2 separate regions of the Homo sapiens genome follow, and region 1 is linked to region 2. Evidence: promoter capture Hi-C in 16 types of primary human blood cells and fetal thymus (Javierre and others, 2016). All regions are on one chromosome and are shown on one strand. The core of a region is centred on a gene start or on the middle of the fragment in contact, and the rest is flanking DNA. Distances in the headings are between cores, read along the strand shown.

Region 1 (3,061 bases), core at 185-2,684, 3.9 Mb before region 2:
ATGCATGGCAGCTACTTGTCAAAGTTAAATATACCCATTTCTTTCCCCACAAAGCCGTTAGATCTATTACCACCTAATTGCTTGGAAAATTCATTTTCTTTTTCTCAAATCACAGCCTTAATTGAGGTCTGAAAGCTCACCAAGGGCCTTTTAAATCAGCAAACCTAACTTAAAAAAAATTCTCCTATAATTTAACTTTGTGGCCAGGGACATATTTTTTTTCTTTGAGACAGTTACGGCAGTCAGTACTAGTAGAAAAACCTCTTGCTTTGAGAAATCAGAGAACTGGGGAGCGTGTCTTACTGTTTCTGGTAATGCACACTGGGGCCAAGAGTTCACAGCAAAGTGAATAGATATTAATTGCAAACATATTATTTAATCATGCTGAAACCAAAATATTTTAAACCAACTTATGTGGGTGTTTTATTGTAAATGTTAGGATGGGAAACACAATCTATTCTGCATTCTGGCTATGGAAATCTGCCCTCCACGTGGCCATCTGCAGGAGTACCATATGTGTAACACACACAACTTTATTCCTTCTTACACCAACCCTAAAGTTTGCACAACAAGAAAAAATTTTCAACTTTGGTTTATGACATATCAGGGTGCTTTCAAGCATAAACAGTGATTAGAATATCTAAATTGATGTTTGAAATCAGGATTAATTTTAATTATATAAGAGAAATGAAAATAAATGTGATTAAAAAAATAAACATAGATGCAACCATTCAGGTCAGGGTTGCTATTTCAAGGAGTCACCTTGAGAAGCTATGAACTAATTTGAAATACTCTACCATTTCTCAAAATGTTTTTGAAACTCCTCATTTGGAATTGCCTCAGAGTTAGTTTTTCATCTGCGTCTCCTTATCACTTTAGAATTACATTTTTGTTACAGATGGTGTTGCCTTGCTGGGGCACTTTATTCACCAAGCTTCACTTGGAGTGAATTTTTGTGTTTAGAAACTTACAGGATATGGTGCAAGCAAGTCCAAATATTTTGTGCAACATCACCCTCTCTGGATTGGCTATGTGCCTCTTCTCCTACCCCAGGATAACTTAGATTTAAAATTGGGAAGGAGTAAGCTGGGTGACTGATATGCATTAGTTTCATTTCATCTTCACAAAGTCCTATAAAGCAGGTATTATTCATGTTATTCAGATGAGGAAACAGACTTAAAATGTTTAAGTAATTTAAGACCTCTTTAAACTAATGTAGACCTGGGAGTTATCTGGGACTAAATTTCAATTTTTTCTTCTACAGCTGTCATCTCCATTCAAGGTGACAACATCATTCTGGAATTACAAGTCCTGTTGTGCTTGTGAAAATTTACAATAGTTTTTAATTATGTTGACCATGTACATACCTATGTAAGTTTGGGCCAGTGCATCAGAGATATATTTCACATTCTGTTAGTGATTATGTAGTTGTGAGAGCTGAGGATAGGCGAACAAATGTCATTTGTTTATGCACAGCAATCACTGTGATAGGAAAGCCAAATAATATTGGGCACTGTTGACAGTAATAATGTTTCACATCCTAGTGTTATAAAAATTTGCCTCATTAAACAAGATCAAACAAATGAGCCAATAAGAAGAAAGCCCCATTTCTTCTTCTCCTAAGCAGACCTTAGGAGTAAATAAATGAATGAGAAGTGAGCCTGTGATTCTAATGTAAAAACCTTGGGAGAGATGGACCAGAGATGATTGGGCTTCTGCTTAGGATGATACGTTTGAAGACAAAAGAGCCCATGAGCTGGGTGCCTAGTTTAGGAGCCCATAAGCTGGGTGCTTAGTTTAGGAGGTATGTATGCCTGCTGCTTGCTCAGATGACATAATTCGGAAAAAAAACAGAAATTGGAGGTATGTAATAATCTAGTTACGGTTCAAAAGAGGGTACCATCTTTCCGTATATCACCAACCACATCTTCAACAGAAGCTTACATAGAAACATTGCTTACTATGTGCCAGGTGGAGTTACCTGCTTTGCGTGTGACTTTTCTAGTTTCAGCACTGAAAGTCCTGCATCCTTGAAGCCCCTAAGTCCCAGGCAAACCAGAACATTGGTGTTCGATGCCAGGTTATGTTTTAAAGCTTTATATTTGGTAACACATTTAATCTTCACAACAACCCTATGAGGTAGGTACTATTATTACGTCTATTTTGCAGAAGAGGAAATGCTTGCTTAAAGAGGTGAGGAAACTTGTCCAGGCTTCCATAGCTAGTAGGTAACAGAGTCAGGATTTGAAGTCAGGTAGTTTGGTTCAGTGTTAGGGTGCTTCTTAGAATACTGCCTCTTGAAGGGCTGCCCCTAAGAGTGTCCTGCTTTGTACTAAAGGGAGAAAAAGAGATTGTTGGGAATAGAATGATGGCTTAAAACATAGTCTTACTCTCATGCTGCATACATGAGATATACAGGCAAGAAAACAGGCAATCACTAGATCTGGGAAGGAAGAGAAGCTCTTGTCAGAAAGTAGAGTGAACTATTTGGGTATGTCAGAGGTTAATAACCCAACCTGATTGGTCAGGGATGACATGAAACAATGTGTAACGGCAGCAGCCTGTGGCTTGTTATGTAGGGACTGGTCAATAAACAGAATTATGTCATTAGGCTTCAATTCTGGCAGCTGTAGGAGAATTGACAACTATGACAGTGGCTGTTTAAAAATGGAAATGATTGTTAAGGAAGGATGTGAGCCACTTGGAACTTCCAGGGAAGCAGAGGACAGAATGGGGATATTTAGGATAGAATCAGTCACATTGTGATAATCCCCAAGGCCACGGTAATGTTGGTCTGAATGTCTATGTGGTCCCTGGAAGCCTGGGTTAAATGAACACATAACACTGAGGATATCTTGGTGGGAGATTCTTAGGCATATTCATGATAGGATGCTGATATGTTAATACTATCATCACCACTACAACAACCCAAGAAACAAACACAAATCAAAATAAAAACATGAGACTTGGAACGATTTTTCTGGAGGGCATGAATTATGCTGTGTTGTTATTATGCATAGGGATTAGCAGATTTCAGAGCTCTTCTCCGATGTGGAAAACA
Region 2 (3,298 bases), core at 60-2,559:
TCTCCATTTCCTTCCTCCTTCAGGGGAAGTTAATATTCCACAAAGTTAGAAGTTACAGGAGAGGAAAAGTAGTAAACGCCCCAAAATGAGGCAGTTACTTCTATTATATCTTCAAAGGATACATGGCTCAAGGCAGATCAGGTAGTTGGGAGATTTCTTAAAAACAGCATAATAGCTAACATGAACATTTTCATTATTCAGAGAAATTTGACATAGCTTTTTAACGTATGTTTCTGAGAAAAGTTACTAGTTATATTGTCTTCCTCCAAGAATTAGTCTTTGGGTACAGATGAGGCTTGAAAAAATGACATTCCCTCTTAGACTAGGTAGTGTGAAGGGAAAAAAAAAATGACATTCCTCTTCCCCCAAAGCAGAGTGAGGTCCGTATGGGATATAGGTGTAAAGAAAATTTTGGGCCGGGCATGGTGGCTCAAGTTTGTAATCCCAGCACTTTGGGAGGCCGAGGTGGGTGGATCACTTGAGGTCAGGAGTTCAAGACTAGCCTGACCAACATGGTGAAACCCCATCTCTACTAAAAATAAAGAAATTAGCCAGCTATGGTGGCACATACCTGTAATCCCAGCTACTTGGGAGGCTGAGGCAGGAGAATCTGGAAGCAGGAAGGTCTCAGTAGGCTGGGATCATGCCACTGCGCTCCAGCCTGGGCAACACAGCAAGACTCTGTCTCAAAGAAAATTTTGTGGAACACCTATTTTCTCACTGACATGAAAAATGTTTCAAAGATGAATAATGTCCATCAAGCTATGGCAATGGAAGTGAGGATGATAAAGGATTGCACAGTTGTTCACAACCTCACTGTTAGTATCCTGCTGAGATAGTTGGTCTCCTCATCACTGTAGCATCTTTTATGTACAGCAGAGGGCAGAAGCTCCTTGGCATGTATGTGAGGGAACCACATATATGGAAGGCTGTTATTCCTGAGAAAGGAGGATGTGCAGACACTCACAGAACAAAGCCTTTGTAAAGGAAAGGCGGCCGATGAGATGGAGTGCTTCCTTCACCTGTGGTGGGTCTGTATCCATGAAATCGCCCACTCACAATCGCTTTTTGTAGCTACTGGAAGCACTAGGCGTCTGACCTGCCATCATCCTTGTTATGATGTCATAATCATATTCTGTCCGTGTTTATTGCAGTTCTCTGGTTTGTCTGGAGTGTTTGCAAGTCAGTCATCATAGTGGCAGCTTCCGCCTGCTACAGGATATTTATATATGGAAGCATACCATGGCAGGAGTGCTGGAAAGGTGGTGTCAGCTAACAGTTGCTTCAGCCAGATAAGGACGGTAACTTCAGTCCAATAAAAACCTCATCAGTTACCAACTAAATCAGGGCATGGTGTTTTTTTGTTGTTTTCTTTTTAAAGCATAGTTTTAGTAATATATTTACTAAAAACCTTAGACATTATGAAAAAAGTCAGGATTTGGAATCTTACACTGCTTGGCTAAATTGACACAATATAGACCAACAGTTTCATCCTGGGGCTTATGGGTCTCATAGGAGCACCCGTATGCTGAAGAAAGGCAAAGAGAGAACTACAGAATTTGTAGAAAAGTTTTGTTGTAGTTGCTTCTGAACAATTAGTTTTTGTTTGTTTGTTTTGTTTTGTTTTGTTTTTCTGGTAACCTAGCAGTCAAAGCTCACATTTTTGTAAGTAATTTGCATGCTATTACTCTACTGAGACTGAATTATGATTCTCGAGTCTGGGAAGTTTTTGTTGCATGTGCTCTGTGTTTTTCATTTTTGATAGAAATGATTTAGACTTGATTTTAAAAATTACTTCCTGAATGTGAAGAGGCATTGACTGGGAAATGAAATTAAAGAACAAATTACCATGACTCATTCAATAACACTGCTTATTAGCTTTGAATTATGCCCTATTATAACAATTCTGATTTTGTGGCAAGCAATACTGGTGTGAGTTATTTCTGTGGTTTGATACCAAGCACCTGCCTGGTTAAAAAATAAAGCACCAGGCAATTTTTCATAGACAATTATCTTTATTTGTTGGAATATTTATTTGTAAATAGTCAAAGAATTCTTAAATGACAAAAAATCAACTGTTAGCAGTGATCTAAACCAGAGGAAAATGAAATTACTTACATGTTTCCAGTCAAGGTATAAGAAAGGGTTCTGTTAAAGGGATGCTGCTTTAGCCAATCTTGGTGAATAAGCAAATTTGCACACTGGAGTTGAAAGGAGGGTCAAGTTAGTGTGATGAAGAATTGCTAGTAACACTGGCTTCTCCAGCCTTGCTGGTTGTTCCTAGATGCCCTCATTTGGAGATGCCAAAGATAGCAACTACTGGGTGTCAAACAGCCGTGGGGCCTGGTTTTAAGGCCATGTGATCTTGTATCCCTTTACTAGCAGCCTCATGAGTCATTTGCAAGTCATTTGCAGGCTCTTGGAGCCCTGGAACAGCACCCAACTCAGTTTTCTCTGCTAGTTCTTTATTTTTCCATTTGCGTGTTGCAGCTCATTAAAAAAATATTGGAATAGCATATATTTACATTGTGACTTCACTCTAAAGAAGACATTTTCTTTCAAAGCACGTCATGGCTCACTAGGTTGTTGTCTTAGTTTTTTTTGGAGTCACCTTTTGAGTAGATAGCAAGACCAGTAATATGGAGATTTTATTAGCTGTACTCTTAAAGTCAGTTTTTGTGGCCATGATTTTCTAGCTAGGTCTCTATTTTGTAAACATTGATTAAGCCTCAGTATGAAATTGAAGCAACAGCAGATACATTCCTGAAGGGGAAGCTAAGGCTCAAGGCTATTAAGTCAGAGATCCAAAAATGAACCATGCTTCAGTTACCACACCTAAAATAGAAGCTGTGTGCAGAACAGTGGTCCTGTGATGTGACACATAAAACTTTTTTTCCTGGTCACATATTACTGTTTGGTCAAATATTAGTATAAATGGATGATAAAATATGAAACACATCTAAAAGAATTGTTTTAAAATCTGTGACTATGCATGAGTGAATATTTTGGGGCCTTGGTTTTAACTGCAAAAGGATAAGATTTGACTGACCTCTAAGGCCCTTTTACTCTATTTGCTGCTGCTTTTTAATTTTTTTTAATTGTCATATCAAGTCATTTCCTTAGGAATGCTCTATGAAGTATATTTGGAATTCAGTAATGTCAATAAAGTGCTATGGTAGTATCTTATCTGAAAACTCAGGGAATTGTTTGTTCTTGTTAATTAAAATTTCAAGATAAGTGAAACACACTTTTTTAGTTTTAACCCTAAAAAAAATTTTTAGTCCATGACTTTTTGAGC

What was found. Contacts are between HindIII fragments. The CHiCAGO score rates a contact against its expected background, and 5 or more counts as called.
Region 1: a contact is called between a fragment that was not itself captured here and the fragment with the promoter of LSMEM1 in region 2, in 3 of 17 cell types (activated CD4 T cells, total CD8 T cells and naive CD8 T cells). The highest score is 9.0, in activated CD4 T cells.

Annotation. Positions count from the first base shown.
Region 1 is chr7:108,619,457-108,622,517 of GRCh38, forward strand. All of the region lies in intron 3 of LOC105375448 (a long non-coding RNA gene), which reads left to right. Among named protein-coding and RNA genes, the nearest start is that of DNAJB9, 51 kb to the left of the region's middle. The HindIII fragment of the contact is 1,005 bases long and covers 933-1,937 here.
Region 2 is chr7:112,479,682-112,482,979 of GRCh38, forward strand. It overlaps LSMEM1 (leucine rich single-pass membrane protein 1), which reads left to right and starts at 1,310. Exons shown (of 4, transcript NM_182597.3): 1 at 1,310-1,665. The HindIII fragment of the contact is 7,612 bases long and covers 1-3,298 here.